Linked DNA regions of Homo sapiens: all the other regions are linked to region 1. The links are contacts of gene promoters, found by promoter capture Hi-C in blood cells and fetal thymus (Javierre and others, 2016). All regions are on one chromosome and are shown on one strand. The core of a region is centred on a gene start or on the middle of the fragment in contact, and the rest is flanking DNA. Distances in the headings are between cores, read along the strand shown. Region 1 holds the start of NRROS (negative regulator of reactive oxygen species). Region 2 holds the start of ACAP2 (ArfGAP with coiled-coil, ankyrin repeat and PH domains 2). Region 3 holds the start of FYTTD1 (forty-two-three domain containing 1).

Region 1 (3,387 bases), core at 529-3,028:
ACTCTGAGACTGAGGTGGGCGGATCACCTGAGGTCAGGAGTTTGAGACCACCCTGGCCAACATGGTGAAATCCCATCTCTACTAAAAACACAAAAATTAGCTGGGCGTGGTGGTGGGCGCCTGTAATTCCAGCTACTTGGGAGGTTGAGGCAGGAGAATCACTTGAACCTGGGAGGCAGAGGTTGCAGTGAGCTGAGATTGCGCCACTGCTCCAGCCTGGGTGACAGAGCAAGACTGTCTCAAAAAAAAAGAGAGAGAGTTGAGTTTGGGATACATCATGTTATGGTGACTCTGGGACATGTAGCAGTTGATTGACCAGTAGACAGTTAAAAATGCAAGTCTGGATCTTCTCTCGTGGAAGAGAATGTTGGAGCTAGAAATTAAAATTGGGGAGTTACCAACTGATTGGTAGACACAAAAGACATGAAGTAGAGAATGTGCATACAAGAGAGAAAGAGGCCTGAATCAAGCACCTGGGTTTGCAACAATTTGATCTTTATTTAGCTTTTTCATTGGTGTGATTGTTATTACCATTATGAGATAATATTTTATTTTTAAAATTATTTTTATTTTTTTAAAGACGGAGTCACACTCTATCACACAGGCTGAAGTGCAATGGCGTGATCTTGGCTCACTGCAGCCTCAACCTCCCTGTGCTCAGGTGATCCTCCCACCTCAGCCTCCCAAATAGCTGGGACTACAGGTGCGTGCCACCAGGTCTGGCTAAGTTTTAAATTTTTTGTACATATGGAGTCTCAGTATGTTGCCCAGGCTGGTCTTGCACTCAGGCGGTCCACCTGCCTTGGTCTGCCAAAATGCTAGGATTACAAGCCTGAGCCTCTGTGCCCGGCCATGAGTGAATATTGTAGAAAGCAGAGACAATGTGCCAGATGTTTGGAGTGAAAAGGACTTGGCTCCTGTTCTCTTAGGATGGACAATGCTACACACAATCCCAAATCACAGGCTATAAGAGAGGTGACCCAATCCTGCAGGACAGTTCAACGTTTCAGATTTGAAGGGGAGTGAGAGAGATCAGAACTGGAGGCCCCTTGTCTGAGCCCCCGACTATGGTGGTCCACGTCACTCCACACGCAGCAGGCACTGTAAATATTTCACCTTCTCTAGACGACAGTAGTTCCTCGAGAACAGGAGCGCTGGGGTAATGCATATGAAGCTCTTAGCACAGTGTCTGGCGCTGCTTCAATGATGGCTATATGATCAATTATTCTTACTCCTTTGAATTCTTGGCAAGAGCTGGCAGGGAACTTTGTACACATCAGGTACAAAAAAACCCATCCGCGCAGTCTAAGATCAAGAAGCTCTTGGCACTCTCTGACAGTCCTCGACAAAGCAATTCCCCTTCTTTCTAACACAGGGTCCGTAAAGGAGATGATCCACAAGGACCGGCTGAGTGGATAAGAAGACAGACTGGCTGAGCGGCTGACCCTGCCAGACGACAGGCTGTGCCTCTTTACCACGGTGCTGCCGTTCCCAAAGTCGGCCTCAGCTTGGTCCTTGGCTGGAAGCTCGTAGCAAAGTTTCTGGGTCAGCAGACCTCATAGGCAAGGGGCCCCTAGCTGGCCGCCCCCAGCCCTGCCAAGGCACCAACGCAAGAAAGCCGGGGGAGCCTCGGTCGCATTGCTGGAAGATCGTCTAAACATCCCCGCTGCTCGGCCGCTAGGCCGGCAGGTGTTCGGGCCCCGCTCCCCCGGCCCGCCCCACCCCCGCGCCCGCGCCGCGCTTCCCTCTAAGAGGCCGGGTCTGAGTGAGCCTGTGCTGAGTCGCCGAGCAGCCCGCTCTCCATGTGACTTCAGTTTCCGTCCGTTCCTTCCGCTGGTGCTAAAATAATCTGATGCCCCACAGCAAGGAGGTAGCCCAGCCCCGCGTTCGGCTGCTCTCGAGGAGGCCGGAGCCCCCGGAGACGATGCGCCCCGCGCAGCCGCCTGCGCCTGCGGGAGCCGTGAGTATTTCCCGCGTGGGGGCGTCCCCGGGGCACAGCCGGGGCCCTTCTCCAGGTGGGCGAGCTCGAGCGAGGTTGGGTGGTAGGAGGTCAGCGTCCGCGGCCCGCAGCTCAGGGCTCACGAGGAAGCTGTGGCTTGCTGCGTCCAAGCGCCGCCGCTTTTGTGCTGGGCGTGGGGGCTGCAGCTCTGGGTGGAGGTGGAAATACCTCCCTCCAGGAGCACTTAGAGCTGAGAAAGGTGGTGCGACGTAGTGGAAACCACGAGGGCTTCAGATTCAGACGTGGGTTTGAGTCCTGGCTCTGCAGGGAGCATGTGAGCAGACAGTTAAGGTTTCTGAGCCTCAGTTTTCTCATCTGCAAAATGGGAACAGAGATGCTCCCTCCCTGGGCTGGGCGACTGGATATGATGAGACCGCTCTGTGCACACTCAGCATGCTGAGCACTGGGCTCTCCTTTCCTGTCCCACAACGTGGATTGAGAACCACTATCTCATAGATGAAGACACTAAGACTGGTTAACAGCAACACCTATCACAGATGCCGTCCACGTGCCAGGCCTGTCCAAGGCCCTGGGGATACAGCTGTGAAAATGTGCAAAGCCCCTTCTCCCACAGAACGTTTGTCCTTGGGAGATTCACTGGGGCTCTGTGACTTGGATCTTAGCCTAGACTTAGATCCATGGCTTATCAGAGGGAGACTAACAGGAGGGCGACGAAGACTCGGACGCTCTTCCGTAGCCCTCGTGGCCCCTGCATGTGGGCCGGCTTCTGAAGGGGTCAGCGTACTTCCCCACGTACCCAGGAGCTAGACGGAAAGAAGTAAGGAGCCACTGGTGTGGCTTTGTGCTGCCTCTGAGAGAAGGTGGACACGTGCCAGTTGGTGGCTGCGACTGGAGGAGGCCGGATCGGGGGTCCTAGGAATGGAGCCTCTCCGGACAGGGCTGGTCGGGGCTGCTGTGCTTCCCTAGGGGCTGAGGGGACCCCACCGGAGGCTTCTTCATGATGGGCACAGCCCGTTAGGAGTCTGGGTGCTAGAAACATTCAGCGTCTGTGGCCCTCCATGCTTTCCTGTGTGCTCCTCACCTGCCGGCTGTGACACACAGACTGTTCTGTGGATGCTGAGGGTTTGCTGGGCTTTACATTTACAATACGTATTTATTCTCCTCACACACCTCTTAGGTTTGTGTGTGTGTGCCCGAGAGTCCCTAAAGGAGATTATAGAATCATGGGCCCAGGAAAAAACCTTAACTCCTGCCTTTAGGTTAAAAAAACAAAACAAAACAAAACAAAACAAAACAAACTCAGCTTCACAAAGAAGGCACTTTTTAAAAATATATATATTTATTTATTTATTTTTAGAGACAGGCTCTTGCTCTGTTGCCCAGACTGGAGTTCTGTGGCACGATCACAGATCACTGCAGCCTCAAAC
Region 2 (3,387 bases), core at 292-2,791, 1.2 Mb before region 1:
AAAGGGCAAACGCAAAAAGCGTTCTTAAATTTTCTCTAAGTAGCAGTTCCTTAGTTTTACAATTCTTTTCTTTTTCGCTGAAAGGAGAATAAGAAATCCAATTAACAGTGTTAAGGATGAGAACAGTTAGTTCCCAGGCAGAGGATGCAATTTACAATCCAGGCTTGGCCCAGACATTAGCGGGCACACACACGCCAGTGCTCAGAGGAAGCTTCAAGAAATGTCACTATCTAACGGAAGTGTTAAGGCCTTATATTTGTAAGGACTATGACCAGCCCTGTAAATAAATACACTGTAAAACGCAACCTAGAAAAACTCCATTGTCCAAAACAACTCAAGACTTTCCTACTATCCTCAAAACAGAAAGAACCTGTGTCCTGGACGGCCTCAGGACGACCGCCTCTCACATAGAAAGAAGGGCAACCCATGTGAATCGGAGTGCCCCCATGTCAACTCTGTGACAGATCCACTGGGAGCATCCGACTGTGATCCGGGCCCTCCTGGGCAGAGGCTGCTGGAAGAGGAACACACAGGCAATCTTCACGGCCCTCCTACTTCCGTTCTCAAAACAGAAATGCACTTTTCTGCTAGTCCTCCGCCCTCAGCCCGGTACCTCTCGACAGCTGTGCCCCCTTCAACGAGCTTAAGTGGAAAGAAAAGCAGGTAGTCACCAACTAGGGTCCACGGAATGCGGTTGATCACAGCGCTTCCCCCCGCGATTCCCGCACGCATCCACCGCGGGCGCCCTCCGGAGAGTCGCTCTGGCCGGGGGCACCGCGAAGCAGAAGTCGGCGTCCCAGTTCGCCCCCTACTCTCTCCTCCCCGGGGAAGGGGGGCAGAAAAGCGCAAAGAGGAACTAAATGAACTGCAAGAGGATGCCCTGAAAGCTCCCTCAAAGAGGGGGTGGGGAGGGGGTGGAAACCAAGAAGGGGCGGAAGGAAGGGGGAAGGAAGAGCAGCCAGAGGAGGAAGGGGGCGAGAGCGAGCGCCCGCGAAGGGGACGGGACTTCGGGAGCGCGGCTGCACCCCATTTCCCCCAGCGGGAGAGGGTGCGCCGGCCTTCGGGGCGCTCCGCCCCGGCAGAGGGCAAGGAAAGAAATGAGAGGCGACGTCCCCGTCCCCGCCACTTCGTCGCCCCTCGGGAGGGCTCGGTGGGGACTGCAGTGCCCTCGCAGGGTGGGAAACGGCGGCAACAGCCGCTCGCCCCGTCGGAAGGAGCGGACGGCGGGGCCTCCTCCGGGTGCGCGGGCCCGGCTTTCACGCCCCCAGCGCCGGGAAGGCAGCTCCGCGGTGACGCCGGGCGGCCGTGCCGGTTACCTGAAGCGGGGCGAGTCCTTCAGACACTCCTCGAAATCCACAGTCATCTTCATCCTGCCTCCGCCTCGCAGGCGGCGCTGGCAAAGCCGAGGGGGCCGCGGGAGCGGCCGCGCTGGGACGCAGACGGCTACGGCGGGCGCACGGCCGCGACTAGCGTTGCGCGGAGCTGCGAAGGGCGCCTCGCCCGCTGGTCATAGCAGCCGCGAAGACGGCGACGACTAGTCAGGCCCCAGTCCCGCCCCTCTTCCTCCCGCCCCAAGTAGAGCGCTGGCCGCAGGGAAACGGCCGGGGAGTGACAGCAGCGGCCAGCCAGCCACGAACCTGGCGGCCAAGGGGCGGGGCATCCGGCAGCACCGCCTGCGGGCGCCCGGGCAACGGGTCTGAGCGACGGCAACCCGAGCCAATGAGCAGCGCGACCGTGGGCACCTCCTTGCCACAACCGCCCCCGAGGGCCAACCGGGATGCGCGGGCGTCGCTAGGCGGGACGCACCGGTTGCTGGGAGGCCGGCAGCTGAGGTTCCTTGGGAAGGAAGTCACGTGGCTGCGGCCGCGCTTCCCTCCGAGCCCCCGCCTCTTCTCCTGCTCCCCGAGCCCCGCCCTGCTGAGCTGCCAGCCCAGAGGAGCAGTCTCCTGCAGGTCTGAGGAAGGAAATTTGCTTTTCAAAGCAGATTGGCAGAAATCTGAAGAGGTTAGAGGCAGAAATTATAAAAGGAAGAGATAGGCTAAGCCACCTATTCCTTTCAGTTTAGAGAAACTGAGGCCAGAAGAGGAGCGAGGATAACTTTAGTGATAAAATCCATCTTTCATGTATTTGTTCCATAGCTTCATAATCTGGAAATTGCTCCCATGTACATCTTCTCATATAGCCAGAGACCACTTCCTGAAGGAGCTGCCGTTTGGGTTGGACATAGAAAGATTTAGGCAGGTATGGGAGGTAGGGTGCTTCGTGTGGAGGAACTCCTCTCAAAACTGCCGAAAGCATTCCCCCTCACTGACACTTTGCTCCTGGTGGTTTTCACTGTTCTGCCATGGTGGGGTTCTGAAGACCAGGCTCATCGTACTCACCTTGCAACACCTGCCCCTCTAATCCACACTTTTTCTAGAAGCACTTTAAGATACTTATCATCTGATCCTCACGGCAGGTATTTACCATACTCCTTCATTTTAAGATGCCATTGATTGTAAAAAGTACAAAGATGTCTTATATGTAATGAGTAATTTTTAAGCCAACCTAAAAAACACGGGCGTATCTATAAAAATGAATATACAGGGTGTTCTAACAGCATAGTGGCTCTGAGTGAGAATCTGGAGGCAAACTTCCTGGATTTAGGTCCCAGCTTTCTCACTTTAAAATGAACATAACACACAGATCTGATGAAGTTGTCCGGTTAACACAGTGCCACATATCGATCATTCAGTAAATGTTGGCTATTTTAATTGTACCATTTGCCTCTTCAGTACTATAATCAAAGGGCTTAAGTCTAAGTTCTCTCACTTTCACTGTCTGAAGTTTTTGTTTGTCTCAAAAACAATCAAACAATTTCGTTCCGTTCCCCAGGCTGGTCTCAAACTCATGGCCTCAAGTGATCCTTCTGTCTCAGCCTCCCAAAATGCTGAGATTACAGGTGTGAGCCACACACCCAGCCTTCTAAAGTCTTAATATAACTTTCTGACCGTCTGGCTAAGTATAGCGTGATGACATACTGTTTTTCGTAACCCATCAAGAGATATCTTGATCTCTTTAGCATCTTTAGAAATTAACAGTATAGACAGGGCATGGTGGCTCACACCTGTAATCCCAGCACTTTGGGAGGCCGAGGTGAGCAGATTCCTTGCTCCAGGAGTTCCAGACCAGCCTGGGCAACATGGTGAAATCCTGTCTCTACAACTCTACAAAAATATACAAAAAATTAGCCAGGCACATGCCTATAGTCCCAGTTACTCATGAGGCTGAGGTGGAAGGGTCACTTAAGCCTAGGAAGTCAAGACTGCAGTGAGCCATGATTGTGCCACTGCACTCCAGCCTGGGTAGACAGAGCAAAACACTGTATCAAAAGAAAAAAAAAGGAAA
Region 3 (3,387 bases), core at 572-3,071, 1.1 Mb after region 1:
GCTGAGATTACAGGTGCCCACCATCATGCCCGGCTAATTTTTTTATTTTTTTATTTATTTTTATTTTTTAGTAGGGGTTTCACCATGTTGGTCAGGCTGGTCTCAAACTCCTGACCTCAGGTGATCCGCCTGCCTCGGCCTCCCAAAGTGCTGGGATGACAGGCGTGAGCCAGTTTCTCTAGTTTTTAGCAGTCCAGACAAATGAAGGGGCTTCAGGGTGAGAGAGTAGTAAAATCAAGCACATTATGCTAAGGACATACATGATATTCTCCTTGACATGCCAAATATTGTTCTTGAGTTTCCGAGTCCAAACTTTCCTCCACTATTAAAGTTTCTTGTGCCCCTTGATAGGTGTGTGGTTCACTCTTCCTATATTGTTATGTCCTTGTCATGATAAAAAAAAAGAGACATCTTAACCTTTGAGAATAAGAAGTTATTTAGAATATTCCCAAAAGCCTAACAAAAATCATACATTTCCCCAAGATAAGACTACTAGGCTTACAAAAAAGTCATGGTTCTTTGAGTTCAGCTGGAAACATAATCTGTGTGAAGACTCCTGGTTTTATCCATGCTACATATACAGGAAACGTTCACATTTACTTTTATTGTTAAGGTGACCGCAAAATTGTCACTGCAAGCTTTGCTTTAAATTCAGGCCTGGAAAGGGGAGCTGGAACAGCTGGCTTTAATTTTTAAGTGTGACATGCATAAGAAATATTTTAAAACATGGGATCCCCAAGCAAAAAATAGTAAATGTGTCATTGGTGTTGAAGTTGGAAGCCACATGACATTGTGACATGACTAAATTAAGCAAAGGCTACTGTGGTTTTGAGATGGCTGGTTTCCATGCTAAAGGAATTTTTGCATTTTATGAATTGGAGAGGAGAAAGGCGACAGAGATTTCTAGGTGGACAGAATGCATCTGGTATTGTCCTTAGATGTAAATATCCGAGATAGTTTTAAGCTGTATGAGGGTGATATAACCTAAACGCTTCCACATAAACGCAGTTACTTCAGGGAAGGAGAATGAGGTAAGAAGAGAGGTAAATACCGTATGTTGTAAACGGAAAAAAGTTATCATGCAGGAATTCATCAAATATTAAACTGTTTTCCCGTAGGGATGATTAAAAAGTAAACGAACCCTTCTATCCATTCCCAATGCAAATGAATTAGAAGAAAATGCAGCTACATCAACAGAGGTACTTACCCCTCCCGAGGGAAGCTGAGGTCTTATTAGGGTAGTGAACACCGTGCCAGATGTTTTGAGAGTGCCGATTGAGAGAAGGTACAGACACGGGAAACGTTAGCATTTACTTTGGAGTTAAGGTGACGCAGGAACCGTCACTGCAGCGTTTGCTTTGCGTTCAGATGCGGCAGCTCAGCGCAGCTGTAGGTGGAGGAGCGTGCCAGGGAGGGGGGAGCTGGGATGCAGCTGCAATCTACACTCGCAGGGGTCTGTCCTGCCTCCCGAGGCTGCGTTGCGGTGGGCGCGAAAGGCTCGTGTGTACCGAAGTATAGGGGACCTGTCTGCAGCAGGAGGGACTCGAAGGACACGGAGGATTATATCACTGAAGGCATAAGATTCAGAGGTGCCCGCGGTCTAGCATCCCCCAGTTTGGGCGGAAAGTCGAACTGCTCACAACGGCGGTCCTCGCGAGCGCCTAGCACAGCGGCTGCAATGCCTCGTCCGATCCTGCGAGGGCCGCTAGGAGCGAGTCACGGCGCGGGGCCGCTCTGGTCGCCCGCGAGTGTCGGTGGCCCCGCCCCGCCCGCAGCCGCGGGTGGAGACCGAGGACGGCGCCGGCGCGTGCGCGCTCCCTCGGTGCGGCGGGCTGCGTGCGCGAGTGGGAGGTGGCAGGCCTGCGACTCCGGCCTTGTCCGCGCCCGCTCTCGGCGCGACGTCTCCAGCCATGAACCGGTTTGGTACCCGGTTGGTGGGAGCCACGGCGACTTCTTCGCCGCCGCCGAAGGCCCGCAGCAATGAAAACCTCGACAAAATAGATATGTCTTTGGGTGAGGGGCCGAGTTGGACCGAGTTGGAGTGCGGGGGAGGGCGCGGGTGGAAGCCGGCGGCGCGGTTTGTGGGGGCAGGGGCGGTCGGCAGCAGTTGCCGGCGGAGTTTTCTCGCTGGTGGGCGGACCCGAGCGGAGGCCCGGAGGACAGCCGGGAGCGCAGGCTCGACGCCAGGTGCCCGGCTGGACCGCGAGGGACCCGGGCGTCCCCTCGGCCGCGGCAGTCGGAGGAGGGGCTGTGGAGGCGGGGGCAGGGGCGCTGCGGGCCCGAAGGTTCGCAGGGTCGCGGGGGGCGTCTCTTCTCCCCGGAGGGGCTACGGCTCGCCGCTCGCCGGCTCTTTGTGAGGAAAGATCTGCCGGTTTCCCCGGAGCGCGTTCGCGGTGGGCGTTATCGGGGAGCGAGGGGAATGGTCCGACCGAGCCGTTCTCTCTGAAGAAAGGTCTTGGAGAGCCCGGCCGGGGCTGCGGTCGGTTAAACCAGCGCTTCCGGAGCTTTCCCTGGTCGCCGGGCGTTCCAGGCCGGCGCCGGCCATGGCTGCCGGGCGCGACTCTCGGGGCCACCTCCGGCCGCGGCCCCGGAGCGTCTGTCAGAAAGGAAGCAGCGCTCGGCCGCCTGTGGGATGTGGTTGTGTATTGAGCGCTGCCTAGAAAAGCACAGTCTCCCTCTCCAGGCCTCAGAGCTAGCTAATGGGGGAGAAAGCAAACATCTTTGAAGGAGAGATGATTGCTGTGGCTCGCTGAGAAGCCAGGTAAAGCGTGGGGTTCTTGAGCGCATCTGAGAGGGTGGCGTGGTTTCTTGCCGATTATATAAAAACCGGGAGGTTGGTGATTCCATTAAAATCCAGCCCTGACACTACCGAGGCACCAGCCGCTGTGGTTAGCTTAGGTGGGCTAAAAGTACGAATATTTTTGTCGGGATTCAAGTGATGGCGTTGGGTGTAAGTCAGCTCTGCCAGGTGTTTGGCTGGCAGTTTTTCGGATATTTGAAAAGTACCTGACTAGTGGATTCCGAGGCGTACCCTTTCCCAGGACGGTCTTTAGAGTGATAACTGTCTTGGAAACCTTCTTTCGGTTTTCATTTCTTCCCATTTGTCTTGTGTGTCTTTTGTTGTGGTTTATCTGGAACGTTTTTGGTTCCAGGTGAGATGGGAACTATTGATTTCTACGATTGCCACAGTCAGAATCCAGTATGTGAACTAAGCAAATGATCAGAAATAATAGGTTTGGCCTCAAGTCTTGCCTTGCTGCTGGTTAGTAGTGAGCTTGTAAGAAATGAGAAAGCTGGGGCTGGGCGCGGTGGCTCACGCCTGCAATCCCAGCCCTTTGAAGGCGGAGGCGGAGGCAGGCAGATGGCTTGAGCCCAGGAGTTCGAGAC

Evidence for each region. The method cuts DNA at HindIII sites, captures the fragments that hold promoters and counts their contacts. A CHiCAGO score of 5 or more calls a contact.
Region 2: a contact is called between the fragment with the promoter of ACAP2 here and the fragment with the promoter of NRROS in region 1, in 1 of 17 cell types (fetal thymus). The highest score is 5.1, in fetal thymus.
Region 3: the fragment with the promoter of FYTTD1 here is called in contact with the fragment with the promoter of NRROS in region 1 in 1 of 17 cell types (naive B cells); the score reaches 5.3 in naive B cells.

The regions. Positions count from the first base shown.
Region 1 is chr3:196,637,916-196,641,302 of GRCh38, forward strand. NRROS (negative regulator of reactive oxygen species) reads left to right here and starts at 1,779. Exons shown (of 3, transcript NM_198565.3): 1 at 1,779-1,960. RefSeq lists silencers at 1,416-1,845, 1,866-1,965 and an enhancer at 2,416-2,535. The HindIII fragment of the contact is 14,541 bases long and covers 1-3,387 here.
Region 2 is chr3:195,441,479-195,444,865 of GRCh38, forward strand. It overlaps ACAP2 (ArfGAP with coiled-coil, ankyrin repeat and PH domains 2), which reads right to left and starts at 1,542. Exons shown (of 23, transcript NM_012287.6): 1 at 1,317-1,542. The coding sequence starts at 1,369. RefSeq lists enhancers at 457-546, 1,086-1,585 and silencers at 997-1,046, 1,067-1,286, 1,407-1,906. The HindIII fragment of the contact is 4,201 bases long and covers 210-3,387 here.
Region 3 is chr3:197,748,062-197,751,448 of GRCh38, forward strand. It overlaps FYTTD1 (forty-two-three domain containing 1), which reads left to right and starts at 1,822. Exons shown (of 9, transcript NM_032288.7): 1 at 1,822-2,013. The coding sequence starts at 1,911. It also overlaps a transcript of RUBCN not described here. RefSeq lists silencers at 1,619-1,958, 2,059-2,328. The HindIII fragment of the contact is 7,876 bases long and covers 637-3,387 here.